Linked DNA regions of Homo sapiens: regions 1 and 3 are each linked to region 2. Evidence: promoter capture Hi-C in human tissues and cell types (Jung and others, 2019). All regions are on one chromosome and are shown on one strand. The core of a region is centred on a gene start or on the middle of the fragment in contact, and the rest is flanking DNA. Distances in the headings are between cores, read along the strand shown. Region 1 has its middle 18 kb from the start of CYP11B1. Region 2 holds the start of GPIHBP1 (glycosylphosphatidylinositol anchored high density lipoprotein binding protein 1). Region 3 overlaps LY6K (lymphocyte antigen 6 family member K).

Region 1 (4,142 bases), core at 793-3,292, 320 kb before region 2:
TGTTTGTTGGGCTTTGGTATTAAGGTAATACTGGCCTTGTAAATGAGTTTGGAAGTATTATCTCCTCTTCAATTTTTTGGAAGAGTTTGAGAAGGTTTTTTTGTGTTTTTTTTTAAGGTTTGGTAGAATTGAGCAGTGAGGCCATCAGGTTCTGAACTTTTCTTTAACTGGAAATTTTAAATCACTAATTCAGTCTCTTACTTGTTATTGGTCTGTTGATGTAGCAGGACAAGCCACAGACAAAACTCCTCAGACACCGAGTTAAAGAAGAAAGAGGTTTATTCGGCCGGGAGCATCGGCAGGACTCCTGTCTCAAGAGCCAAGCTCCCTGAGTGAGCAATTCCTGTCCCTTTTAAGGGCTCACAACTCCAAGGGGGTCTGCGTGAGAGGGTCATGATTGATTGAGTAAACGGGGTAGGTGACAGGGTCTGCATGCACCGGTGGTCAGAGTGAAACAGAACAGACCGGGAAGTTTTACAATGTCTTTCTGTAATCTGTAGATAACAGCAGTTGCTAGGTCAGGGGTCGAATTTTAACTACCAGGCTTAGGTCAGGCCCAGGCTTGGTTTCGGTTCTGGTTTCTTGGATTTGGGTCTGGTTCCTAGGCGCCGGGGCACCTGCCTTTAGTTTGGCTTCTCTTTCCTTTTCAGAGTATAAAACAACATAAAACAATATGAGAAGGTCTGTCTCTCTTCTCTCATTCAGATTTTATATTTCTTCATAATGCAGCCTTGGTAGGTTGTGTGTGTCTAAGAATTTATCCTTTTCTTCTAGGTCATCTAATGTGTTGTTAATCAATAATTCATAGTAGAATCTTATAATGCTTTGTATTTCTGTGGTTTCAGTTACAATGTCTTTTCTTTCATTTCTGATTTTACTTCTGAGCCTTTACTTCTGATTTTACCCCAAGTCTTCTTTTTTTCTTATTTGGTATAGCTAGAGGATTGTTGATTTTGTTTATCTTTTCAAAAAACCAACTCTTAGTTTTGTTGATTTTTTGTATTGCTTTTGGAATCTTTATTTTGTTTACTTCTGCTCTGATCTTATTTCCTTCCCTCTGCTAACATTGGTTTTATTTTTTTCTTTATCTGGTTCCTTTGGGTGTAATGTTACATTGTTTATTTGAGATTTTTCTTCTTTTTTCATGCAGGCATTTGTTGCTGTAAACATCCCTCTTAGAACTGCTTTTACTGCATTACATATATTTTGCTCTACTGTGTTTCCATTTTCAGTTGTCTCAACATATTTTAAATTTTTTATTTAAATTTCTTCTTTGACCCATTGGTTGTTCATGTTGTTTAATTTTTATATATTTGTGAATTTTCTGTAATTCCTGCTGCTATTGATTTCTTAGTTTTATATTGTTGCCAGAAAAGATACTTGATACGATTTTAATTTTCTTAAATTTAAGACTTGTTCTTTCATCTAACATATTATCTATGTGGGAGGATGATCTGTGTGCACTTGAGAAGAAGGTGTACTGCGCTACTGTTGGATCGAATGTTTTGTATATTTCTGTTAGATTCATTTAGTCTAAAATGTATTCAATTCTGATTTATCCTTATTGATTTTATGTCTGGATGATCTGTTTATTGCTAAAAGTGTTGTATTGAAGTCCGGCCTAAGCCTCCCACAGTTCTGGGATTACAGGGGTGAGCCACCATGCCTGGCCTGATTCTATTTTTAAATAGCTTTATTGAGAAGTTATTCACATACCATATAATTCACCTACTGAAAGTATACAATTAAAGGTTGGTAGTATAGTCACAAATATGTACAACTATCACTACATCCAATTTTATTAATTTCTAAAATCGCCAAAGAAATCCAGGACTTCAGCAAAAATGCGGTGGGCAGCTCTAAATGTGTGACCCATCACAGTAACATTCAAAAAACAAGCAAAAACTGCACAAATTAACTTTGTCAGGGCTCTGGAAAATAATTATTTCTGGCCACCACATAAATGCTACATGAAGAAAGTGACAACTCTTACATTGTAGAGAAGCTTTCCTGTATCTTTACTTGCTCTGGCTTTGCCCACCCCAGATCAGTGGCTGTCTTTGAAGATGGCAGCTCAAGCTACCAGTGTGGGATGCTGGGGTCTGGAGACAGAAGGATCAGGGCAGCGCTTATTCCCCAAAATTGTCATTATTTGTTCTAACCTTTCTGTGGACTACCTGAGGAACTGATGCAAGGGCCTTGCCTTTGTTTTGCCTAACTTGGAATGTATTCAAGTGGAAAAGTAGCTATGGAAGACCCGCATCAAAAATATTGTAAGGCAGCTGAGTAACCTGATATCATCAAAGGCAAAAGATTCAACTTGAGGAAAGAAAAAAAAACTTTGTCAAAACACTAGAAGAAAAAGCTTGGAAGAGTGTTTCTTTGAGAAGCTAGAGGATTTGAAATGCCAACCTATGCTGGGAAATCTAGAAAACCACAAGCTCCTAGGGCAGGACAGATGCTAAGACAGTGTCTAATTATAATCCTCCTGGCTGTGTTTACAGGAGTGCCCCGAAAACAGGCCCAAACTGCAAAGACAAAGACAGTGTTGGCTGTGTTTACAGGAGTGCCCCGAAAACAGGCCCAAACTGCAAAGACAAAGACAGTGTTGGCTGTGTTTACAGGAGTGCCCTGGAAACAGGCCCAAACTGCAAAGACAAAGACAGTGTTGGCTGTGTTTACAGGAGTGCCCCGAAAACAGGCCCAAACTGCAAAGACAAAGACAGTGTTGGCTGTGTCTACAGGAGTGCCCCGAAAACAGGCCCAAACTGCAAAGACAAAGACAGTGTTGGCTGTGTCTACAGGAGTGCCCCGAAAACAGGCCCAAACTGCAAAGACAAAGACAGTGTTGGCTGTGTCTACAGGAGTGCCCCGAAAACAGGCCCAAACTGCAAAGACAAAGACAGTGTTGGCTGTGTCTACAGGAGTGCCCCGAAAACAGGCCCAAACTGCAAAGACAAAGACAGTGTTGGCTGTGTTTACAGGAGTGCCCCGAAAACAGGCCCAAACTGCAAAGACAAAGACAGTGTTGGCTGTGTTTACAGGAGTGCCCCGAAAACAGGCCCAAACTGCAAAGACAAAGACAGTGTGATTATTTTTCTTGTCTTTTTATTTTTCCCCTCTTTCTTTTCTTTTCTTTTTTTCTTTCTTTTCTTTTCCTCCTGGTGTTCAAGGAGAAAATCTCTCTCAAATTTGTCAAAACATCAGATTAATGCAAGCTAAAGAAATAGATTCCACTATTGCCTTATAATCCTTTGTATTTCTGTGATACAAATAAACAGTAGAAGACCTAGAGAAAACAAATAGAAAAATTATAGAAGTTGTCTTATTTATCAGTAATTGCTTTACATATAAATGGTTCAAACTCTCCATTGAAAAGGCAGAATGGATAAAAATTGTGATCCACTACATGCGGTCTTCAACAGATTCACATCATATCCAAAGATGCAAATAGGTTGAAAGTGAAAGGTAGAAAAATGGTATTTCATGGGAATAGTAACCAGGGAGCTTGGATGGCTATGCTAATATAAGACAAAATAGTCTTTATGTAAAAAAGTTACAAAAGACAAAGAAGGTCATTATATATTGATAAAAGAGTTGTGGCCGGGCACGGTGGCTCACGCCTGTAATCCCAGCACTTTGGGAGGCCGAGGCGGGTGAATCACGAGGTCAGGAGATCGAGACCATCCTGGCTAACACAGTGAAACCCCGTCTCTACTAAAAATACAAAAAAATTAGCCGGGCGTGGTGGCGGGCACCTGTAGTCCCAGCTACTTGGGAGGCTGAGGCAGGAGAATGGCGTGAACCCGGGAGGCAGAGCTTGCAGTGAGCCGAGATCACGCCACTGCACTCCAGCCTGGGTGACAGAGCGAGACTCCGTCTCAAAAAAAAAAAAAAAAAAAAAAAAGAGTTCTGATGGTTAATTTTATATGTCATTAACTAAGCTATGGTATAGTTTTTGGTCAAACACTAGTCTGGATTTTGGTGGAAAGGCATTTTTAGGTTTTACCATCATTTAAAGAAGTAGGTTTTGAGTAAAGCAGATTATCCTCCAAGTATCCTCCTGCAGGATCCATCCTGTGGTTATCGCCACAATTCAAGCAGAATTGGAATATTCATAGTCAACAACTGGCAGAATCCCC
Region 2 (4,377 bases), core at 1,312-3,811:
CACCAGACCTTAGCCCTGGCCCTGGGGGACCACAGCCCTGCCCTGAAGGTCTTAGGCATCATATCTTCACCCTGGAGTGTCTGAGAGGTCATGACCTTGCCCTGGGGGCTTGAGGGAGGCTGCGTGGTGCCTGGGTGGGATGAGGGGGTGGGCTCCACATACAGAGCCCACCACGCCTACCTGCCGGCTGTAGGCAGTGCTGGGGAACCAGGTGTCTGCCACTGCGGGTCCCCTTTCACACCTGCGCACCATCCCAGGTGGCACCTTCTGTAGGGGCTGGACCAGACCCACTAGCCTTTCCGGGGCGGGACAGAGGGAACAGCCTCTCAGTGGCGAGCACTAAATTTAATTCAATCTGCGAATCAAATGTGCTCTGATTGTCCCTAGGTGATTCTCGCAATAAGCACTTGCCTGGGCTGGGCAGTTTGCACCTGGGCTGAAGAGGAGCTGGGCCCAGAGGGAGGCAACGTGCAAGGGCCTGGGCCCCTGTGGAGGGGAGGCGGCAGGTGGAGGCCCCTTGAGAATCCCAGTAGCGCCCTTCCTAGGAGCAGCTCCTGCAGCACTAGATTCAAGGGCCTGTAGCGGTAGCCGGGGCGGGGCGCGGGGGAGGTAGGGCAGCAGGAAAGCGGGGCACCAGGGAAGAGGGGCGACAGGGAGGCGGGGCGTGGGGGAGGAGGGGTGAAGATGACGGGAGGCGGTGCACGGGGGAGGCGGGGCACAGGAGAGGCGGGTCGACAGGGAGGTGGGACGCTGGGGAGAAGGGGCGAATGGGGGCGGGGCGATGGGGAGGCGGGGCGACGGGAAGTAGGGGCAGTGGGGGAGGCGGGGCATGGGGTAGACAGGTGTGGGGGAGGCGGGGCACCAGGGAAGCGGGGCGTGGGGGGAGGCGGGGCGTGAGAGAGGCGGGGCAGTGGGGGAGGCGGGGCGTGGGGGGAGGCGGGGCAGTGGGGGAGGCGGGGCAGTGGGGGAGGCGGGGCGTGGGGGGAGGCGGGGCAGTGGGGGAGGCGGGGCAGTGGGGGAGGCGGGGCAGTGGGGGAGGCGGGGCGTGGGGGAGGCGGGCCGAGGGCGAGAGGGCGCAGGGAGGCGGGTGGGGGTGGGGCCACGCGCGGAGGGGCAGGGAAGGGCGGGGCGGGGCGGGGCGGGACGGGGCTGGGGGGGACAGGCATCAGGTATGAAGAGTTTGGGGCTGGCGGGGCGTGTCCGGCTGTGGCGTGGGCACCACTATGGGAGACCCTGGCTTGGCAAGTGACCTTGCAGCCTTGGCTGGGGAAGGGCTAGATGCTGGGTGGGTGCCGGTAGAGTGGAAAGAATGACAGGTTCAGGTGAATTAAGGAAGGATGGTTGACTCGGTGGCTGGGACATTAGAGACAGGTATTCCCAGCCTCAGGCGCTGTCCTAAGCCCAGCAGGTACTGACCCTTGATGGTCACCTCACCCTATGAGGGAGCTGAGGCCTGGGGAACCCAAGGGGCTAGTCCAGAACCCACAGCCGGGGGAAGGAGGAACCGGGTCTTAAACCCAGGTAGCTCACTCCAGAACCAACTCAACCTCTGTTACAGGTGGCCGGCCAGAAAATGCCCCACCCCACCCATTGACAGTCGGGGAAACTGAGGCCTCAGTAGGTGAAGTGCCTGGCCCAAGCACCAAGGCACACAGAGACGCTCAGGCTTGACCCTGGCTCCGGACGTCCAGCCCCTGCCGCTGCCCCACCCCTCTGCTGCCCTTGGGAGAGGGGCAGCTCAGAGCCTCGACTCTGCACTCTGCATCAGCACCCCCCAAGGGCTTGGGTGGGGTCTTGAGAGGAGGGGGTGGCCTCAGGGAGCGACCTGGGCTTTCCAAGCCTCTCCCAGAGCAGCCCGTCTCTCACACAAGGCCAGAAGGCAGGTGGGTGCTGATGGCTTTCCCAGCAAGAGACCGAGGGGGCGGGCCCCCAAGAGCTCCAGAAAGCTCTCCACCGGACACCAGCAGGAACAGCACTGCAGATGGAGCAGCAGGGGCAAAGACCCGAGGTGATAGTGAGGGGCAGCCGGGAGGCCTTGGGCCTAGCAGTGCATTGCTGAGTGTGGGTGAGGAGGAGGTGAGCACGCAGCCTTAGCTTGAGGGCATTGACTGTGTTTTTACTTAAATGCTCTTAAAGGGGCCTGGGTGTGATGCTGACTCTAGGATGACGATGCTTGGCCAGTGACCAGCAAATAGAGGGTCTGTGACCCCAAGGTCCTGTGACTATGGAGCCCAGACATGGGGTTGAGGGGTGTCAGGCATGGCCCATTCCGGGGCGAGGCTCCCTGCCCTGCACTGCAGGGCTGAGGCACTGAGCGGCAAGCCAGGCGAGGGCCAGCACCACCTTCCACCTGCCGTGGCACGGGTGCACAGGACGTTCCAAGGCCAACCACAATGACTTCTCCTTCCCCTCTGGCCCCAGATGTCCTGGAGGGAAACAACAGTCCCTGGCCTGGCGCCTGGAGCTGGGGACCAGTGTGAGGCCCATTGTTTGAGGCTGGAGCTGGTGGGGGCCACTAGGAAGCCCACGGCAATGCCCTTCATCCCACTTACCGCAGCTCCAGAGCCCTGCGGGAGGACTCAGAGTCAGGGACACAGCAGCGTCCGGCGAGATGAAGGCGCTCGGGGCTGTCCTGCTTGCCCTCTTGCTGTTCGGGCGGCCAGGTGCGGGGCAAAGGGTAACCCTGCGGTGAGGGGGCAGCAACAGCAGTCCTGGAGCACAGGGACCTCCAGGGACCCCCAGCAGGGGCTTAGGAAGAAGGAGGGGATGAGGCTGGAGTCCCCAGCCCAGAGCAGCATGGATGGAAGCTGGCCTGGGTCCCCGAGAGTCCCCAAATATCTGCGCCCCTGTTTATGTGGGGTGCGGGGAGGGGCTACCATAAAGGGCCAGCCCACAGCAGCTGCTGTTGTAACTACAATGCCAGGGCACACTCGGCTGCAGGACAGTGAGTAGGGTGAGTAGGGTAGTAGGACAGTGAGTAGGGTGAGTAGGCTGCAGGACAGTGAGTAGGGTGAGTAGGGTGTTCAGGGTAGGGGCCCTCCCCAGCCACCCTGGGGCCCGAGGATGGCTGGGGAGGGCCAAGGAGTTGGGGGCACGATGCTTGCCCAGAGCAGGTGTCCTCCATACCCGGGTAGCTGAGGCTTACAAGCATCCCTGCACGGCCAGGGAGAGGGCAGACACAGCAGGAGGAAGAGGAAGAGGACGAGGACCACGGGCCAGATGACTACGACGAGGAAGATGAGGATGAGGTGGAAGAGGAGGAGACCAACAGGCTCCCTGGTGGCAGGAGCAGAGGTATGGCCGCCCCAACCCCAGAGCCCTGCTGCCTGATCTGCCTGGAGCATTCTGGGCGGGGCTGTGTGATGGAAGCCAGCAGGCCACAGTCCTGCTGTGAGCTTGCCTCCAGCAGAGTGGGGGACACTCAGTACACCCCTCACTGCTGCTCACCATGACACTCAGTTGCCTTCCAGAGTAGGGAACAGGGGAAGAAGCCACCAGCTGGGAGGGTCAGTGGTGCCAGGATGTAGAGGTTAAATAGGAGTTCACCAGGCAGAGAAGGGCTCAGTGGGGGCCTAGGGTGGAGACACAAGCACAGAGGCCCCAGGGTAGGGTTCAGTTTTGTGGGGCAGAGAGAGCAGCAGGGTGGGCCGGTCCTGTACAGGGGAGGGCTGGATTGGCTGCTGCGGGCTGGGGAGCCAGGGAACCGCTTAGAGCAGAGCAGAGTAGGGCTAAGAAGAGCCCACCCTCACTGCCCACCTGACACACCCCTACACGTGGGCCACCCTCTGCTCTCTCCCATCCCGAGAAAAGCAGAGCAAATCGCCGCATCCAACCCGAGGGCCGGCCCCTCCCTAGCCAGGGACCACAGCGTGCCCCACCACACACAGCCCCTCCCTAGCCAGGGCCCCCAGCATGCCCCACCACACACAGCCCACCCCCCTCCCAGGAGCCCCAAGCCTGCCCTCAGCACGAGCCCTGCCCCACACACCCACGAGGTGTCCCCTGTGAGGCCCTCCTCTGCCAGGCCTGGTGCTCCTGGAGGCAGGACTGAGTCAGACCCACCTCCAGGTTTCTGTGACCACGGCAGGAGCCTGGGCAGCATTGTCGCAGGACGTGAGTGATGATGGGAAGTTCGCCCTGCCTGACCCGCAATCCCTTGCCCCCTAAACACACAGGCTCACGCACACAGCACAGCTTACAGGACCAAGTCAGGGGTCGCCCGCCCATCTGAGCAGTGGGTGCTGGAGGCTCACCAGGCTAGGCTTTGGGAGCACAGCTGAGAACGGGGAGGTGGACAGGGACGTGGGAGGAGACCCTGGGGGGCCCGGCCTCGGCCTGAGCCCGCCTTGTCCCCAGTGCTGCTGCGGTGCTACACCT
Region 3 (4,608 bases), core at 1,361-3,860, 510 kb before region 2:
GGGAGGGAGGCCTAAGTACCACTCATGGAGAGTATGTGCTGAGATGCTTCCGACCTTTCAGGTGACGCAGGAACACTGGGGGAGTCTGAATGATTGGGGTGAAGACATCCCTGGAGTGAAGGACTCCTCAGCATGGGGGGCAGTGGGGCACACGTTAGGGCTGCCCCCATTCCAGTGGTGGAGGCGCTGTGGATGGCTGCTTTTCCTCAACCTTTCCTACCAGATTCCAGGAGGCAGAAGATAACTAATTGTGTTGAAGAAACTTAGACTTCACCCACCAGCTGGCACAGGTGCACAGATTCATAAATTCCCACACGTGTGTGTTCAACATCTGAAACTTAGGCCAAGTAGAGAGCATCAGGGTAAATGGCGTTCATTTCTCTGTTAAGATGCAGCCATCCATGGGGAGCTGAGAAATCAGACTCAAAGTTCCACCAAAAACAAATACAAGGGGACTTCAAAAGTTCACGAAAAAATTGAATTAAAAGATAAAAATTAAAAAATGTTTTATTTCTCAGCATGAGCTCCATCAAGGTCGAGACGCTTCTGCAAGTAATGGTACCAGCCATTCAGTTCATCCCTAAAGAATTGGGCACCCTGGGAATTTAACCATGCCACTTCAGTCTTTGTGACGTTATTAACTGAAGAAAAGTGGGTGCCCTTTAAAGATTTTTTAAAATTATAAAACAGAAGTAACCAAATCAGGCCTGGAAGGTGTATGCCTAGTGATTTCCCATTGAAACTCTCACAAAACTGGCCTTGTTTGATGAGAGGAATGAGCAGGAGCATTGTCATGGTGGAGAAGGGCTCTCTGGTGAAGCTTTCCGGGGTGACGATTTCCTGGGTGTTTTCCTGCTAAATCGTTGGCTGACTTTCTCTATACACTCTCATAATAAGATGTTACTGTTCTTTGGCCCTCCAGAAAGTCAATAAGCAAGATGCCTTGAGCATTCACAAAACGGTTGCCACGACCTTTGCCCTTGACATGTCTGCTTTTACTCTGATGGGACCACGCCCACCTCTAGGTAGTCATTGCTTTGCTTGTGCTTTGCCTTCAGGAGTGTACTGGTTAAGCCACATTTCATCTCCGGCTATAATTATATGAAGAAATGCTTCAGGATCTTGATTCCACTTGTTTAAAATGGCCATAGAACGCTTTTCTCTTATCTGCAGCTGAGCTGGGAGAAAGTTTTGGCACCCACCGAGTGGACAGTTTACTCAACTTTAATTTCAGTCAGAATTGTGTAAGCTGAACACCTTGGGATACCTACAGCGTTGGCTATTGTTTCTGCTGCTATTAATCAGTCCTCTTAAATTAGGGCACAAACAAGATGAATTGTTTCCTCACAGACTGATGTGGCTGGCCTGCTGCTGTGGACTTCCTCTCCAACATCATCTCTTCTCTTCTTCCAATGAGTTATCCACTTACTTAAATTGCTGATTTCTTTGAGGCATTGTCCCTATAAACTTTCAATAAATCATCAATGATTTCACCATGTTTCCAGCCAAGCTTCACCATCAATTGCATGTTTGTTCTGGTTTCAATTTTAGCAGAATTCATGTGTCTGATAGGAGCTCTGTTCAAACTGTTGTCTTATACTTCTTAGGGCCTCAAACTAGATCCTGTTCGGACGTGTTTTCACAAGTTAGTACAAGTTTATTTTGTTGCAAAACAATTTGAAATTCATGCATTCTTTTTCCCAATATGCATTTTCCATGAACATTCTAAAGATCACTCATCCTTCCTCCCCATGTTGTCTATTCAATGTCAGGGAGGATGTGACCCCACCCACTGCTCACCTTTGTCTCCCTTCTGTCCCCACCATCCTGGCCAGCCACTGCCTGGTCTAATACCAGAGGCTGCTGGGTGGGGAAGCCTGGGGAACCTTCCAGATAGAGTTTCTTCGCTATTCCTGAGGCATGGGGAAAAGGCTCATCTCAGTCACATCTGAACACTTCGAACCTGAGGCCAAAGTCCATTCTAGGGGCAGTGGGCAAGGAGGGTCCCAGCAACTCAGGACCAGATAGGACCACCAGCACCTGTCAGGCTCTGCCTGTGTGTCCATCTTTTTGCCCGTCACAGGCTGGTGTTCACATCCTGCCATTCACACCAGCACCCAGAAACAGTAGCCCCAGCTGCTTCCAATTCGCAGCCCTGGGCTTGAGTTTGGGGAGCATTACTTTCATTAAGGCAGGCAAAAGTGGGAACTTCATTCAGAAAGAGCAAGTGAGGTAGGAGGTCAGCCACATGAGAGAGTTTCCATGGCAGCCTTCCATTAGAGTCTCTTCAAATGAAGGATGTAATCTGTGATGTAAAATCATAGCAAGTCAAGAAATGTGAATACGGAAAAATTCGAAATTGGGAACTGCTGGGTCTCTGGTAACACTAGGAGCACTCCCAATTACTTGAGTAAGGGAGATAGAAAATTATTGCAGGGTTAGGAATTAGAATGGATCAAGGAGTTTGCTGTCTCCAGTGTGATAGATGCTCTTTCTAGAAAAGTCACCATGGATGGAAGACAGAACGGAGGGTAGTGTCTAGAAAAGAACAAGGTTCAACACAGATGCTCCATTATGAATGTAAAAGCTCAAGTATTGTTGACCAAAGGTTAAGAGTCAGTCTAGAGTGAGGGATTGGAGAAGCAGGAGATGGTGGCCCAGCTGGTCAGGGAAGGTCCTTACACAGGCAGAATAGTCTAGGGGACAGATCCAAGGCCGAGACACTGACAAGGAGAACAGACACTTCTATCAACATGGAAGAGCAATAGGCAAGAATACAGAGAAAGATCATGTATAGGAAGAGGCCAGGAAGTTGAAAGAATTATCCCCAGCAGTCACATTTTCTCTGTGAAACAGAATACGGTGGTGTCTGCTCAGAGAATGAGGGTACAAATAAGGTTGGACTTTGAGTGCCATGATGGAAGCTTAGGACTATCCCCAAAGGTAAGAGAGAAGGGATATCTTAGGGGACATAACATAGGATAGCCCAGCATTGTGGAGGTCATGGCTAAGACAGGGCATTAAACATTTGCAGAGACCTGCAAGAGTTCGGTAGTGGATTTTCCCCAGCAGCAGCCCATGTTTATGAGGGGGAAAGGCAGATAACAAAAGTACATCTGGGTGTGAGCTAGTTCAGAAGGTCACGATGGAAAGAGAGCAGTTGAGTGATGAACTATGGGAACTTCACTGAATGGAGAAGTCAAAGTAAGGTTAGAAATATCAGTTTTGAAGCAGTACCAAGGCCAGAGGCTATAGATGGCACAGAAACACAGAGCAGATATTGGCAATCCCATGATTAAGAGAGTAGGAAAGAAGGAGATTACAACCACTAAAAATAACCAGAACTTAGTACACAATAAATGAAGGCTCAAAACTAATGGGGAAAGAATGGATTATTGAATAAATGATATTGCTAAAATAGGCTACTGTGTTACTACTAGATCAGGTGTGTGAGTAATGGAAATCCCCACATCATAATGACTTAAACAACACAAGAATGTGTATTTCTTGCTCTTGTAAATGAAGTGAGCAAGTAAGCAGCCCAGGGCTGTGGGCCACTGCTGGAAGGACCCCTTTTCACGTGCCACCACAGCTCGGAGCACACACGGGGAAAGGGGAATGGATGGGTTCCATAAGACCAGCATTGTTTTCAGAATTATAAATTCTCCAAAATATATATGCATGTATATATCATCACCTATGTGTAGGCTTTAAAAACAAAGAAAATTGAAAATTTGAGGTTCCACTTTGAGTCCGGAAAGCAGTCTTCTAAGAATAAGTATGTCAGGGTTTCCAAGAGCTGCTGGTAGCCTGATGGCTGGACTCAGAGGATCACATGAAGACACACTGGAAAGTATCTTGAACATGGGTTTCATGTCTTGATCTCTGAAAACAGAAAACGACCCTCCTGTAATACACATGAAGTAATTCATAAATTTCCAAACAGCTAGACTTTCTGAAAGCTCTGCTTGGTCAAACAAACATGTCCAGGTCTCTGAAATGCCTTTCTATCTCAAGCACTAAAAAACTATTACTGACTAAATTCTTTTATGGTCAAACACAAAACTGATACTATAAAACAGAAACAGCACAAGAAAGGAAATTAGAAGCCATCATAATTGTGAACAAAAGATAAATAAAATATTGGCTAATCAAATCCAAGTGTATGAAAATACTAATACATTATGATAAGTACAATTTATCCCAGAAATGCGAGAACAATAAAAATCTTAGGAAAAGATACCACTCACCATAGCAAGAGAATACGCAATAATAACCAAATGATAATCAACGTTCAGTTATAACATTTTAAAAATCCTGGATACCTAAGAATAGAAGGCAATTTCAATATTTTGAAAAAAGTTACTTACCAGAAACCTCAAGCAAACACCATACTTAGTGGTGAAGCATTAGAAGTGTTCTATCTAAGTGCAAAAACATGATAAGCCTATACATTGTTACCACTGCAATAAAACATTAAAGTGGAGAATTTAGTCATGTAGTATAAGAAAAATAAAGAGTATAGAAACTTGTTCCCAACAATCTGCCCCATTAGATAGCCACCTATAACAGAAGACCTTAGACTAATTAATTTGTAAAGAACAGAAA

The links. The method cuts DNA at HindIII sites, captures the fragments that hold promoters and counts their contacts. A contact is called where the count stands out against the background at its distance.
Region 1: a fragment that was not itself captured here is called in contact with the fragment with the promoter of GPIHBP1 in region 2 in 4 of the 25 tissues and cell types used here (lymphoblastoid cells, mesendoderm cells, spleen and 1 more).
Region 3: a contact is called between a fragment that was not itself captured here and the fragment with the promoter of GPIHBP1 in region 2, in 4 of the 25 tissues and cell types used here (dorsolateral prefrontal cortex, lymphoblastoid cells, mesendoderm cells and 1 more).

The regions. Positions count from the first base shown.
Region 1 is chr8:142,895,612-142,899,753 of GRCh38, forward strand. No RefSeq gene overlaps it. Among named protein-coding and RNA genes, the nearest start is that of CYP11B1, 18 kb to the left of the region's middle. The HindIII fragment of the contact is 4,037 bases long and covers 25-4,061 here.
Region 2 is chr8:143,210,657-143,215,033 of GRCh38, forward strand. It overlaps GPIHBP1 (glycosylphosphatidylinositol anchored high density lipoprotein binding protein 1), which reads left to right and starts at 2,562. Exons shown (of 4, transcript NM_178172.6): 1 at 2,562-2,663; 2 at 3,166-3,294; 3 at 4,357-4,377. The coding sequence starts at 2,612. The HindIII fragment of the contact is 48,923 bases long and covers 1-4,377 here.
Region 3 is chr8:142,703,695-142,708,302 of GRCh38, forward strand. LY6K (lymphocyte antigen 6 family member K) reads left to right here. Exons shown (of 3, transcript NM_017527.4): 3 at 1-1,433. LNCOC1 (lncRNA associated with ovarian cancer 1) reads right to left here. Exons shown (of 3, transcript NR_038925.1): 3 at 1-3,885. Among named protein-coding and RNA genes, the nearest start is that of LY6K, 5.9 kb to the left of the region's middle. The HindIII fragment of the contact is 5,820 bases long and covers 1-4,608 here.